2 separate regions of the Homo sapiens genome follow, and region 2 is linked to region 1. The links are contacts of gene promoters, found by promoter capture Hi-C in blood cells and fetal thymus (Javierre and others, 2016). All regions are on one chromosome and are shown on one strand. The core of a region is centred on a gene start or on the middle of the fragment in contact, and the rest is flanking DNA. Distances in the headings are between cores, read along the strand shown. Region 1 holds the start of TERF2IP (TERF2 interacting protein). Region 2 holds the start of GINS3 (GINS complex subunit 3).

Region 1 (7,680 bases), core at 1,978-4,477:
GGGACCATGCTTCTACTACCTTTTAGTCCCATTTAACTTAAGACTGTCTTAACTGATAGCAACCCTGTAACACTCTCTGTGCTACAACTGTAACTGACAATGTTCTTAGTCCTGACTATGGAAAAAACATGCATATCTGGGGTAAAGCCAACAGCAAGTTAATGGATAGCTTACAGGTAAAATTGCTCACAACATCCTAGAATATGGGAACAGGATGTGAGGCACTTTCTGAAGCCCTGAAGTGTGGTTTCTCACCTGGAGAGGAAATACCTGGCCACAAGATGGCAATAGGAAGCATATAAAATAAGAGGAAACTGTCACTATCAATTGCAAACTCTAGACAAAGATAAATGCAAGCCACACAAAAATACGTGTCAAAGAGAAGACTTGTTTGGAACTCTAGGAACAAGGGGAAAGGAGAATTTCAGGAAGGTCCTTAGACTGCGTTATGTTTATACATTATCAACACTGGAAGGCAACAGAATTACAGAGATCACCTTCTTTACCGTGTTCAAATAAATTTGAGGAGGCTATTTCACTCGGGCAGGGAGCACATCTGCTTTTAAACTTGGAGTCAATACCTGGCACAAAATGGTGCTTACTAAAAATTTCAGACCAAGGAATTCCCCAGAACAATAAACGGAAGGAAATGTTAATCAGAAAAAAATTATTTTAGCTCATGGTAACGAGAGGAATAGACATCAATGACAGGTAAGACAACGTGAGTAGTGCTGTGCAGTCAGGATACAGAGCATGGACTGTGGAGTCACAGGCCTGAGTTCAGATCCGTGCTCCAGTGCTCTGGATCACTGCTAGACTATATTTTAGGAATGCACACTTTAATAGTGCATTTAATTACTAGGACCTCAGTTTATTAATTTGAAAAATGGACAATAACTCCTCTTGCAAGGTTATTACTGACACTAGACAGAAAGCTTGTAGAGATCTAGCATTGTGCCTGGCACAGAAAAGCTGGTCAAAAAAGTAGTAGCTGTATTTAATTTTAGAAAAGTCAGTGAAGCAGGGAGTGGTGGCTCACGCCTATAATCCTAGCGCTTTGTGGGGTTGAGGCGGACGGATCACCTGAGCTCAGCAGTTTGACGCCAGCCTGGGCAACAAGGTCAAATCCCGTCTCTACTAAAACACAAAAATTTAACCGGGTGTTGTGGCATGCACCTGTAGTCCCAGGTACTTGGGAGGCTGAAGCACCAGAATTGCTTGAACCCGGGAGTTGCAAGTTGCCGTGGGCTGAAATCGCACCGCTGCAATCCAGCCGGGGCAACAACGACTCTGCCTCCAAAAAAAAAAAAAAAAAAAAAAAGTCAGTAAAGAGGAATTAACCAGTTTTTTCCGTTTACCTAAAAACACACTCTGAACTGGAAACCGTGCTTTCACCTGTGATATACAGTCCTAAAGTTCAATTCAATGTAATTGATTATCATAGGTGGTTTGAAAGAATGAACTAAACTTTAGGATCGTATATCACAGATATACCACATTCAATTAAATTTGACTTAATAAAGTCAAGTCAATTTTCTCTAAGGTAGCAGTCCAAAGACCAGGTTCCAAACTTTTATGGAAGTCCATCGGATTGCTCTAATAAAGGACAATATATTAAGGTCCTACCCAACTATAAACTTCGACAATTTCTCTTATACTTTTTCTAAGATATTTGAAGCACAAAGCCAGGGACACAAAAGGAAACATCAGGCCAGGGGTGGTGGCTCAGGCTCACGCCTGTCATCCCAGCACTTTGGGAGGCCAAGGTGGGCGGATCACAAGGTAACGAGATTGAGACCATCCTGCCCAACATGGTGAAACCCTGTCTCTACTAAAAATACAAAAATTGGCCAGCCATGGTGGCACACGCCTGTAATCCCAGCTACTCGGGAGGCTGAGGCAGGAGAATCGCTTGAACCCTGGCAGCGAAGGTTGCAGTGAGCTGAGATCGCGCCACTGCACTCCAGCCTGGCGACAGAGCGAGACTCCATCTTAAAAAAAAAAAAAAAGAAACATCATTTCTCTTTTCTTTTTCATTCAGGGTCTGGCTCCGTCTCAGTAACTCCTTGGGGAAAGCGATGGAGAAGGGCTCGCTCACGCAGCACTTCTGGCAGTCCCTGAAGGACCACTACCTCAAGTCTCCCAGGCTGGAGTGCAGTGGCACGACTTCAGCACACTGCAACCTCCGCCTCCTGGGTTAAAGCGATTCTCCTGCCTCAGTCTCCCGAGTAGCTGGGATAACAAGTGCGCGCCACGGGGATTAAGCCCTCTCGTATGCCTCTGGAATGGTACTATGTACCATCTTCCTAGCAATGATAAAACACTCAATTACCTGTGTTCTGTGGTTCAAATGGGGAACGCTAATGAGAATATAAGACAGCCAGTTAAAGGGTGGCTAATCCTGACTTATCTATGTTAACCTACATACTCCAGGGATTTGGGAGTGGTTAACAAAGATATCAGGCTGAATTAAGATGGTCTCTACTGTTAGACGTTGATCACTTAATACTCACAGGTATCTACTGAATAACCCATACGGGTAGATGCATGACAGTTTTAGAACTGATCCCTTTTAATACATAACGTTCAGAATGACCTTAGTGAGGCCCAGAAAATTTTGAAGGTCTTTCTGAAAAGCTAGGGTATTTAACATTTCTCCAACTTCCACGTTTACTGAGTGGCTCAACAAAAGAATGCATTTCTCAGAAAGGAGGATGAAGCTAAGCAGGAAGTTTCGCTTTTCTTTTCTGATAACTCTTAGTTCTCGTCCTAGTTCCTCCTCCACAGTCTCTTAACTCTAGGAGTATGATAGGGAGCATCCCGCCGGTGCCAGCTGGGAACGGGGAGCCGGCGTGCCCGGGGTATCCCGGGGTACGTGGTCTGCAGGGCGCAGCCACCACGTCTCAGCATGTGCGTACCCACGAGAGCCGGCAAGAAGGCCCCGGCACAGCAGCCTTGGTGGGAACCTCGCGGCGCTTCCCAGCCCAGACTCTCCTACCGCAAAGGCTTTAAAGACTCGCAGCGACACTCACTTCTTGCTCAGTTTCGGCTCGCTGCCATCCACTTTCACCTCGGCCGCCTGCACGGCCGCCATCTTCCCGGAGGGCCCGACCCAAAAGTAAGGAGGATAGTACGTTAATTTCCAGGTCAAGGTGCGAAGCCCCACCTCTTCCGGGGGAGAGGGGGCGGGCACTCTCGATGCGCCGCGGCTGCTGCTGCGCAGGCCCAGTGCTGCGCTTCGCGGCAGAGGCGTCTGCGGTGACAGCTCAGTCAGTTGAGCTCTGTGTGCCAGGCGCTCGCGAGGGGGTAGCTCTTCTAGTAGTGCTCGGCGTCAGACATGGCGGAGGCGATGGATTTGGGCAAAGACCCCAACGGGCCCACCCATTCCTCGACTCTGTTCGTGAGGGACGACGGCAGCTCCATGTCCTTCTACGTGCGGCCCAGCCCGGCCAAGCGTCGGCTGTCGACGCTCATCCTGCACGGCGGCGGCACCGTGTGCCGAGTGCAGGAGCCCGGGGCCGTGCTGCTGGCCCAGCCCGGGGAGGCGCTGGCCGAGGCCTCGGGTGATTTCATCTCCACGCAGTACATCCTGGACTGCGTGGAGCGCAACGAGAGGCTGGAGCTGGAGGCCTATCGGCTGGGCCCCGCCTCGGCGGCGGACACCGGCTCGGAAGCAAAGCCCGGGGCCCTGGCCGAGGGCGCCGCGGAGCCGGAGCCGCAGCGGCACGCCGGGCGGATCGCCTTCACGGATGCGGACGACGTAGCCATCCTTACCTACGTGAAGGAAAATGCCCGCTCGCCCAGCTCCGTCACCGGTAACGCCTTGTGGAAAGCGATGGAGAAGAGCTCGCTCACGCAGCACTCGTGGCAGTCCCTGAAGGACCGCTACCTCAAGCACCTGCGGGGCCAGGAGCATAAGTACCTGCTGGGGGACGCGCCGGTGAGCCCCTCCTCCCAGAAGCTCAAGCGGAAGGCGGAGGAGGACCCGGAGGCCGCGGATAGCGGGGGTGAGGAGGCTGAGCGCGGGGCCTCGCGGATATCTGCGCGGGTGGGGTTGGGATCTTTCTCCTGGCTGCCTGGCGTCCATCTTGGCATCTTCGGTAGCAGCGCTTGGCCCCGCCCCCTGTTGACATCCGGGTAAATTTGCACCATTTTCTTGCCTTCTCGCTCCCTTGTTGTTTATTATTGTTCTTTTTTTGCGATGGGTCTCTGTTACCTAAGCTGGTCTGAACTCCTGAGCTCAAGCGATCCTCCTGCCTCGGCCACCCAAAGTGTTGGGATTACAGGAGTGAGCCACCACGTCTGGCCTCTCGTCGTTTTTATTTTTTAATTTTTGAGTGGGGGCTCGCTCCGTCGCCCAGGCTGTGATGCAGCCGCGCGATCACGACCTACTGCATCCTGGACCTCCTGGGCTCAAGCGAATCTCCGGCTTCAGCCTCCCAAGTAGCTGGAACTACACTCCCGCGCCACCACGTCCCGCTAAATTAAAAAAAAAATTGTTGTAGAGATGGGGGTCTCGTTGTGTTGCCCTGACAGGTCTCGAACTCTTGGGCTCAAGCGATCCTCCCGTCTCGGTGTCCCAAAGTGTTGGGATTACAGGCGTGAGCCATCACACCCAGCTTCTTGGTCTAGTTTTAATTTACTTTACCATTGACTAGAATATTGACATGGTTCTATATTCAAAAGTTACAAAAAGTATATAGAAAATTCTCTCTTGGCCGGGCGCGGCGGCTCAAGCTTGTAATCCCAGCACTTTGGGAGGCCGAGGCGGGCGGATCACCTGAGGTAAGGAGATCGAGACGAGCCTGACCAACATGGCGAAATGCCGCCCCTACTAAAAATACAAAAATTAGCCGGCCGTGGCGGAGAGTTCCTGTAGTCCCAGCTACTCAGGAGGCTGAGGCAGGAGAATTGCTTGAACCCGGGGGGCGGAGGTTGCAGTGAGCCGAGACTGCGCCACTGCTCTCCAGCGTGGGTGACAGAGCAAGACTCCATCTCAAAAAAAAAAAAAAATTATCTCGTCCTTCCTGTCCACCAGCTACCCACGGGCTAACTGGCTTCTTGTGTTTCTTTTAAGAGATATTCCACAGACTCCTTTTTAAAAAAGATTGCTGTTATGTTCAGGTAGATTCAGTATAAAGGCGTACCAGACTTACTTTAATGCTCTGGCGTAACTGAATGCCTATGGACTTAAGAAGGTTCTCGGCAGTTGGAAGGTCTCTTCCTGGTCTTGCTTAGGTGAAGTGAGTTTTTAATGCAGTTGAATTGAAAATTGGGGTTCAGTATGTCTAGGATACAGAACGAGTCTGTTAAGATGTACTTGGTGACGTACCTGGCATTGATAACTTAAACCGATAGACCCTTTTGTTTAAAGAGGCATGCTGCTTCTCCTCCCCCTCCGTAATCCTCCCACCTTTTCTTTGCCTGTATGACTACTCCATTTAACACTTGAAGTCTGGGGAGTAAAATCTTTTTCTCCTGTTCAGTATGCTTAGTAGGAATTTTGTTTTGGTAAAAGTGACATTTCAGCTTCATTCATTCAGCAGAAATTTGAGTGCCAGACATTGTGGTCCTGCTGGAATATAACAATAAATAAAAGTCCCTGTGGTCCTGGAGCTTATAACATGCTAGCTGGGGAGTGGTAAGGGCTATAGAGAAAAATAATTCAGAGTGTAAGGGTTGGGGAGGAGGTTTTTCCTATAGGATGATAAGAGAAGGTCATTCTCATAAGCTGATGTTTAAGCAGAGACCGAAGGAAGTGAAAGAGCAACCCAGGTGGATATCTGGGGAAGAGTGTTCAGGCAGAGGAAGAAGCCAGGGCAATCGCCCTTAGGTGGGAGTATGGCTGGTGTGTTTGGAGCCACAAAGAGAACAGAGTGGCTGTTAATGGAGTAGGAGGGAGAATTAATTATAGCAGATGAGGTTAGGGCTATGTGTATGGGTGAAGTATGTCATCATGTATGGCCTTGCTTTTATTTTTATTTTATTTTAATTTTATTATATATCTTGAGATGGGGTCTTGCTCTGTCACACAGGCTGGAGTGCGGTAGTGCGATCACGGCTCACTGCAGCCTTGACTTCCCAGGCTCAGTGGATCCTCCCACCTCAGCTTTCCAAGTAGCTGGGACTACAGGCACTCGTCACCATACCTAGCTAATTTTTGTATTTTTTTGTAGAGACAGGATTTGGCCGTGTTGCCCAGGCTGGTCTCGAACTCCTGGGCTCAAGGGATCTGCCCGACTTGGCCTCCCAAAAGTGCTAGGATTCCAGGTGTGAGCCACCATGCTGTGTCTGGGACTTGCTTTTAAATCCGTGATGTTGGGGCTATTGGCAAGCCATTTGGAACTTGGGACAAAATTAAGCTGTATTCATCCTACCCATCTAAGTAATCTTTTGATAATCAGATATTTAAATGTAAAAATTAAAAAATTCTAAAATGAGTAAGAGAAGATATGAATGAATATATCAGTATGGTGGGAGTTGCTCTGAACCATTTGTGGTTCAGGATGCTGCCTGATTTGCCAGAAGAAAAAAAGTAAAAATATTAGCATGGTGATAAGTTATGAAGCCAAAAAGACAAAGAAAAAGTTTTATATATTTGATTACCTGAAAATTAAGAACTTCTCATGATAAATAAAGTCAGAGGGCATGCTGGAAAAACATTCCCAATACACTGCAATAGACTTAGTTTCTTTAATGTCTAAAGAGCTCTTTGTCATTAAGTAAGAAGTCATTAAGTAAAAAGAAAACTAATAGAAAAATGAGAAAAGGAAATGGAACAGGAAGTTCCCAGAAAAGGAAATAAATAAGCGGCCGATAAACAAATGAAGAAATAGTCTGTTATTAAATGAAAGTAAATCAGACCGAGTGCGGTGGCTCATGCCTGTAATCCTAGCACTTTGGGAGGCCAAGGTGGCAGACCACTTGAGGTCAGGAGTTCGAGACCAGCCTGGCCAACATGATGAAACTCCGTCTCTACTAAAAACTACAAAAACTATCCAGGCATGGTGGCATGCGCCTGTAATCGCAGCTACTCAGGCAGCTGAGGCATGAAAATTGCTTGAACCAGGGAGGTGTAGGTTGCAATGAGCTGAGATCAAGCCCCTGCACTCCAGCCTGGGTGACAGAACCAGACTCCATCTCGGAAAGAAAAAAAGAAGAAGAAAGAAAGTAAATCAGACCCTGAGCCTAGGGTCAGTATAAGCTATACTTTGACCCATGAGACCTGTGAGATAATAAATATGTGTGTTGGAATTGTTTTGTATTTATTTGATGAATTGAGATAGCTTCCATTATACAAAATAGAACAAAAGCTCCCCAAGTTATTTATTTTTTTTAACTAAATCAGAGCAAGGAGATGTTATACTTTATCTATAAGATTGGCAAAAGTCAATACAATGGGTAATATCCAAAGTTAGTGTATGGGAAAACAAGTATACTCCTACGTTGTTAATAGAAATTGATACAATTTCTTTGGGGGGCATTTTGACAATATCTGATGACATTTATAACGTATATTCCCTTAAACATGGCAGTTTTGTTCTAGGAATTTATCCCGTAGATATACTCAGAGTACAAATGGGTACATACTGAAAAGGCAGTCTCCCTATTTACATACCCTTTTCCCTGGGTCCTTTCCTAGGGGCAGCCTCTATTACCGTCTCTTGTCTGTTGCATGTC
Region 2 (7,680 bases), core at 2,900-5,399, about 17 Mb before region 1:
GACCAGCCTGGCCAACATGGTGAAACCCCGTCTCTACTAAAAATACAAGTTAGCGGGGCTTGGTGGCTGATGCCTGTAATCCCAGCTACTCGGGAAGCTGAGGCAGGAGAATCACTTGAACCCTGGAGGTGGAGGTTGCAGTGAGCAGAGATTGTGCCATTGCACTCCAGCCTGGGCAACAAGAGAGAAACTCCTTCTCAAAAGAAAAATAATAAAGTAAAATAAACAAGATAAGTAAAATATATAGTTAGAGACTGATCAGTACTGAAGGGAAAACGGGGTGTCTTAGTCCATTCTGTGCTGCTGTAACAGAATAGCTGAGACTGGGTAATTTCTAAAGAACAGAAATTTATTCTCTTATAATTCTGGAGGCTGGGAAGTCCAAGATCAAGGCACCAGCGTCTGATGAGGGCCTTCTTGCTGTCCTCACATGGTGGAAGTCAGAAGGGCCAATGGGACAAATTCTGTGTCCTCACATGGCATGTGTAGAGAGAGAACCCACTCCTCCAATCCCTTTCTATAATGGCATTAATCCATTCTTGAGGGTAGAGCCCTCATGATCTAAACACCTCCCATTAGGACTCACATCCCAACATTATTGTATTGGGGATTAAGTTTCCAATGCATGAATTTTGGGGGATACAGTCAAACCATAGCAGGGGATATCAAGTGTGTGAGTCATTAAAATTGTTGTTAAATAGTTAAAATTTTAGATAGGGCGGCCAGGGAAGACCTCATCGAGACAGTGACTTTTAAGTAAAGACCTGAAAGGGACAAGCCATGTGGAAATCCAAGAGAAACACAATTCAGGTAGTGGAACAAACAAGGCAAAGCACTGAGGACCGAGTGTGTCTGGGATGCTTAAGGAACAATAGGGAGGTCATGGGCAGAAGCAAGAAGACTAGAGAGCTAATGCAAAAATCCAAGCAAGAGATGATGGTGGCTTAAACCAGAATGATGAGAAATGGTCAGATTCTAGAAATATGAATGTTAAGTCAACATTTGCTGATGGGCCATTTAGCTGATGGGCCATTACAAAGTGTAAGGGTTAGGGGAGGAGATCAAGGAAAACCCCCAAATTTTGACCTGACCAAGCAACTGGAAGGATGGCGCCCAATACATTTCTTTTTTCTTTCTTTTTCTTTCAATGAACCATGTGTACAGTTTTTCATATTTCTTCTTTTTCTCCCCACCCCCAGATTTGCATTTCTGTCACTTGCACCACAACCTCCCCACTCAATGAAAGAAATTTAGAAAGCACTGGTATTCAAAAGAACAGACGTAAAACTGCTTGAGGTTTTGCTCATCTAAAGCCTGTGTGTTCTTTGGAGGCTATGACTTTTGAGGGCAAGTCATAAAAGCTAAAGAGGCCCCTGCCCTGTTCACCAAAACACTTGTTCTAAGTTCTAAAACACTGTAGTTCTATGATTCTGAAATCTTGAAAGGATTACAATGAAAAAAATACTCTGTTTTCAAGAATCCAGCAGACACTTTTCAGAATACTAAATTTTGTATATTGTAAATATACCAAATATACTGTGAATATTATCAGTATAATGCAATTCTGTTCAGCATAATACTGGTACATTGATTGGTTGGCTGGGTGCCAAGGAACACAGCTTTCTCAGGGAACAGAAATACTCCTGGTTCTTAGGATTTAAGCTATTAACACATATCTATGCTTGAAAACCACATGCCACTTTTGTTAAATGAATTGATGCAGTTCAGCATCATAAGCTCAAACATTCACTAATTTCACCTTTTTCTGATTTATTCACTTGTTTATTAGTTCAAGGAGAGGACAGTTTAAATAGAACAATATATACACAATGATAGTTTCATGATGAGCCAAGACATTAAGTAAGACAAACAAGGCAATCTGATTTTATGTTAAACATTGGCCTGTTACTGTATTATTAAAATAATAGTGGTATTTGAGTTTGGAGCCAGTATTGTGGTCTCTGTACAAAAATAATGCCTTTCTTTGGCATCAATAAATCAGTATGCATCTATCTTAATTATATCAGCATAAAAAATAGCTTACTCTCCTTGGCAGTAAATAACATTGCCTTCAATTAGCCAAATTATATTTCTGTCTCAAACTACATCCAGTACCATATATTCCATGTCATCAGAGAAATTCTAAATTATCACTGCAGATTGTGTTTATTTTTACATTGGACTGTATCACAAACTGAACATTTAAAATATGAAAAAGGAAAAAACCTTCATATAACTGCCTCTCAGTGTGCCTCCTCTCTAAAGCTTCTAGGCTGCTTTCTCCACTGGGCTGCAGACCTTCCTGTCTAGTAGCTCTTGGACACCATGTGTCCCAAACTGAACTCATCCCTTCCCTCCAGCTGCCCCTATTCCTGTGTTCTGTGTATCTATTCATGACATGTCCATCCACCTGGTCAGCCACGTTCAAAACTTGAATCTTTTGACTACTCACTATACTTCACTTCCTATATCCAATTGGTTGCCAAATACTGCCCACTGAACAGCTTCCAAGCATCTAATCTCTCTCTTCTTTATCTACTGCTGGAATTCTCTTCCTGAAGCCCAGATTTATGTTATTATTTGCCTTACATTTTCCTCCCATTTTCTATGGAATGGCCTAACTCCTTAGAATGGTACCAAGATTTTCCACAGTTTGGCCATTCCTTTCCACCCCACTGCACCTTGTTTTCATTGTCCTCAGAATTTCATTTATAAAGGTGACTGGGTGATGACAATCAATGAGTTAGTGGCCAATGCCTTTGAAAATTTTATTATAGTTCTCAAGAGAAGGGGCTGTGCCTACGGCCACACGAGAAAGTATTAGGGTCAATGAGGAGGTAGAGAGAGCGAGGAGAAAGCCCAGAGCCTTTATTGCCGTGGGAAGGAATGGGCGAAGCAGGGAAGGGAAGTCTGAACAAGCTTAGGATTGAATAATTTGAATAATGTTGGCAAGCTCTGGGATATAGAGGTGAATTTTAGTTGTCTGGTACTTGGCCATGGGGTGGTTTATTACAGTGACTTGGGGCAGGGAAAATATTGGTGTGTGAGATGGATAAAGATGGTGTGGGGATATAGGCTTGGGTTGGTTGGTTTGTAAATGAAAGGGGTGTTCACAAGCAAGTTGTTTGCTATCTCTAGGAATTAGCTAACTCTGAAAGGGGCAATTCCTCCCCAGGTCCCCAAGGCCCCAAGATGTCAAAGCATCATAAAATACAGAAAACAGAAACTAAAATCCATGGTTAATACACACCTCCCTTCACACACACCCTTTACTCCCGGCTCCAGTAGCCCCAGAAATGCTCTAGACGAAGTAAGTTCTGTAGTGCATCTCTCAACAATATGCCGCCACCCATAGCCCTGGCTGAGGAGAGCCACCAAACCTGGTACTATGCGACCATGGTCCTTCCCCTGGTCACTGGATAGTGATCGCACCCAACACAGGCACCCCCATCTACAGGGTGGCTGGAGATCTATGACCATTGTGGCGTACCTGGACCAATCAATAAACTGGACCAATTGGATTTCCATTTTTAGGGATTTAAATTCAGAGCCACAAAAGGAGATTGTCAGTTGATGATGAGCTAAGACACCCTGAAGTATACTCACAACCTTAGCAAGCCATGTGCAGTCTAGTGCTCCACCCCTCTACCCACCCCGTCCAACCCCCACCAAAATACTAACAAAATACAACACACTAGTTCATCATCTAGACCATAATAACTCGCTGGGGATAGTGCTGGAAGTTTTTGTTTGTTTAACATTTCTTTCAAATACTAAGATTAACGGAGTTGCATAGTGAAAAAAACTGTAGGAAAGGGTCGGACTTAGGCCTGGAGTGAAGGGCACAAGATGCTTTTATTTTAAACCCCTAAAAGTGTTGCAAAGTGTTTTTAATTTCATATAAATAGTTAAGGATCACATGAACACAATCCAGTACAAATGGGTCCAGGAGCTTCAACGAGCGTTCCAGCTTCTTCGTAACGTTCCCACACCGTGCAGCAAGCGGAGGGAAGAGAACTTCCGGCGCCCCCACCTACCGCTCCCCAGCCGTGTCCCGCTGCTCTAAATCTGCAGACTTGATCGATTGCTTCTGCCTGGGCGGTACCGCCCGAATTGACTGCTCCTGTCTGATGCGTCCCCGGGCGCGGGAAACGAGTTTCAATCCACTTTCCTGACCCCAACCATCCTGCCCAGTCTCCGCTTCCCCGTCTTGTACACCCCTAACTCCTGAGGCTCCTCCGAATCACGCGAGTGGAAGCGGAGAAGCTCAAGTGGCCGCCATGTCAGAGGCTTATTTCCGAGTGGAGTCGGGTGCGCTGGGGCCTGAGGAGAACTTTCTTTCTTTGGACGACATCCTGATGTCCCACGAGAAGCTGCCGGTGCGCACGGAGACCGCCATGCCTCGCCTTGGCGCTTTCTTCCTGGAGCGGAGCGCAGGCGCCGAGACTGACAACGCGGTCCCACAGGTGAGCCTTTGGGTGCGGGGTCCTGCCCGGAAAGACTGCAGCTCCCGGCGGGCCCCTCGGCCCTGGGACGCCGCATCGGGGCGCGCTGCCCTTTGGGATTTGTAGTTTTCGAGGAGCCAGGGCCGAAGGCGCTAACGACTTCTCGGAAACTCCGCGGGGGTCCCTTCGCGCTCGGGGTGGTCTCCAGACTTCTTGTTCGCCATCTGTGGTGAAACTACATTTATCCTAGGTCGCCAGGCAGCCTCCAACATTGATTTCTTTTTTGAAACTGTCCAAATTAGTGTCTTCCCCCTACCCCATGCAACGTGTGTTGAATGCTTAAAGATTGGCTCCAGCTGAATACTTAAGAATTAGAGTTCTGATCATGTTTGCCTTAAAACAGCTTTGGGTTCTGTAAGAGCATGTGATAAGTAGGAACCCCAAGTTGCTAAATTCATTCCTCCATAATGATGACAGGATCAGTAAGCCCTACTGAGGCTTACTTAGTGGCAGCATGGTTGGGTGTGGGGAGTAAGCTTTTCCCTTTAATCCTTCAGCAACCAGAAAGGCTGGGTCACTTGGCCAGGGCTTCAGTTAGTGGTGAGCTGGGATTCGGAACCCAAGGCCATATGGCTTCAAATATAAAATTGTCCCAGGAACATGGCTTGTAATGATTAATTTGGATATCCTGTTTCACCTAAGTTTTGTATAGAACGATGTTTATTGTTTGGTCTGTTTGTTTCAAGTTAATTTTTATCAAAGTAATACATAACCAACGTTTTAAAAGTCAAATAGGCCGGATGCGGTGGCTCACGCCTGTAATCCCAGCACTTTGGGAGGCTGAGGCGGGCGGATCACGAGGTCAAGAGATCCAGACCATCCTGGCCAACATGGTGAAACCCCATCTCTACTAGAAAGCTGGGTGTGGTGGCCGGCGCCTGTAATCTCAGCTACTCTGGAGGCTGAGGCAGGAGAATTTCTTGAACCCAGGAGGCAGAGGTTGCAGTGAGCCGAGACTGTGCCACTGCACTCCAGCCTGGCGACAGAGTGAGACTCCATCTCAAAAAAAAAAAAAAAAAAAGTCAAATAGTACCAAAAGATTTATAAGAAAAAAAATAGCAGGTCCTGCCTTCCTTTTCCCACTTCCCCCTCCAAGTCCACAGGGCTCATGTACCTTTTTTAGTGGTGTCTTCAAGATTCATCTTCATATTTCTAAATAATATTCTTAAACTTACCTTGTTGGGTTGTTTTTTTTAATGTAGACATTATCTGTTGACTTCATCCTAGCAGATGAGGATTTCGTTCCCATACACACTGGTAAACATGGCGCTATGCTGCCCATACTTAATTCATATTTCCTTAGTTTTTAGTTAATGCCCTTTTTCTATTCTAGGATTCCACCTAGGATACCACACTGCATTTAGTAGACATGTTTCCTTAGCCTTCTCTTGGTTGTGACAATTAATCAGACCTCCTTGTTCTAATGACCTCGACGGTTTTGTGGAGTGGTGGTCAGGTATTTTGTAAAATGTTCCTCAGTTGGAAATCTTTGGTTTGGGGGTAGTTTTGTTTTTGGTTTTGTTTTTTTGTTTGTTTTTTTGACACGGAGTTACCCTGTCATCTAGGCCAGAGTGCAGTGGCATAATCTCAGCTCACTGCAGCCTCCTCCACCTCCTGGGTTCAAGCAATTCTGCCTCAGCCTCCCAAGTAGCTGAGATTACAGGCGCCCACCACCACACCCAGCCAATTTTTGTATTTTTAGTAGAGATGAGGTTTCACCAGGTTGGCCAGGCTGGTCTGGAACTCCTGACTTCAAGTGATCCACCCAACTCAGCCTCCCAAAGTACTGGGATTACAGGCGTAAGCCACCTCGCCCAGCCTTCTTTGTTTTTGTTTTTTATTCTTTTTTTCTCAGCATTAGACTTGATTATCAGCTTTAGGGAGGAAGACCACAGAGGTAAAGTGCCATTTTCATCACATATTAAGGGTGCCTACTATCAACAGGACTTTGTACTGTTCATTTGAACCTTGGCAGAGGTAATGTTCATTAGGTTTCTCCACCTTTTCATACTGTACTCTTTGGATGGAAGTCATTATCACTGTCACACTGAAGGAGTAGGGAGTTATGTTCCACTTCTTTGAGTGCAGAGTGTCTACATTAAATCTTTAGAATCCTTCTGCATGGGAGATTTGTGTAGGAAGGTTTGTATGACATTTAATTTCATTTATAGGATTATTCAGACTTGATTTCTTCTTGTGTTAGTTTTGGTATATTTGGTTTTTAACTAAAACTTTGACCATTTTATCTAATTTTTTTTTTTTTTTTTTGAGACAGGGTTTTGCTCTGTTGCCCAGGCTGGAGTGCAGTGGTGTGATATGGCTCACTGCAGCCTTGACCTCCCAGGCTCCAGAGATCCTCCCACCTCAGCCACCTATGTGGCTGGTATTGCAGGTACATGCCACCATGTCCAGCTAATTTTTGTATTTTTTTTTTGTCTAAATTTTCTTTTTTTTTTTTTTCTATTTGTACATTTGAAATTCTTCTGTAATATTTGTATATATATATATATATTTTTTTTTTAATTGATCATTCTTGGGTGTTTCTCGCAAAGGGGGATTTGGCAGGGTCACAGGACAATAGTGGAGGGAAGGTCAAGCAGATAAACAAGTGAACAAAGGTCTCTGGTTTTCCTAGGCAGAGGACCCTGCGGCCTTCCGCAGTGTTTGTGTCCCTGGGTACTTGAGATTAGGGAGTGGTGATGACTCTTAACGAGCATGCTGCCTTCAAGCATCTGTTTAACAAAGCACATCTTGCACCACCCTTAATCCATTCAACCCCTGAGTGGACACAGCATATGTTTCAGAGAGCACAGGGTTGGGGGTAAGGTCACAGATCAACAGGATCCCAAGGCAGAAGAATTTTTCTTAGTACAGAACAAAATGAAAAGTCTCCCACGTCTACTTGTTTCTACACAGACACAGCAACCATCCGATTTCTCAATCTTTTCCCCACCTTTCCCCCCTTTCTATTCCACAAAGCCGCCATTGTCATCCTGGCCCGTTCTCAATGAGCTGTTGAGTACACCTCCCAGACGGGGTGGTGGCCGGGCAGAGGGGCTCCTCACTTCCCAGTAGGGGCGGCCGGGCAGAGGTGCCCCTCACCTCCCGGACGGGGCGGCTGGCTGGGCGGGGGGCTGGCCCCCCCACCTCCCTCCCGGACAGGGCGGCTGGCTGG

Evidence for each region. Contacts are between HindIII fragments. The CHiCAGO score rates a contact against its expected background, and 5 or more counts as called.
Region 2: the fragment with the promoter of GINS3 here is called in contact with the fragment with the promoter of TERF2IP in region 1 in 1 of 17 cell types (monocytes); the score reaches 6.2 in monocytes.

What each region holds. Positions count from the first base shown.
Region 1 is chr16:75,644,546-75,652,225 of GRCh38, forward strand. TERF2IP (TERF2 interacting protein) reads left to right here and starts at 3,228. Exons shown (of 3, transcript NM_018975.4): 1 at 3,228-4,007. The coding sequence starts at 3,338. KARS1 (lysyl-tRNA synthetase 1) reads right to left here and starts at 3,120. Exons shown (of 14, transcript NM_005548.3): 1 at 3,033-3,120. The coding sequence starts at 3,094. RefSeq lists enhancers at 2,973-3,152, 3,192-4,149, 4,083-4,352, 4,150-5,105, 5,684-5,763 and a silencer at 3,653-3,772. The HindIII fragment of the contact is 3,802 bases long and covers 934-4,735 here.
Region 2 is chr16:58,388,322-58,396,001 of GRCh38, forward strand. It overlaps GINS3 (GINS complex subunit 3), which reads left to right and starts at 4,150. Exons shown (of 3, transcript NM_022770.4): 1 at 4,150-4,466. The coding sequence starts at 4,281. RefSeq lists enhancers at 3,789-4,366, 3,973-4,462, 4,367-4,943, 6,972-7,617. The HindIII fragment of the contact is 2,062 bases long and covers 2,918-4,979 here.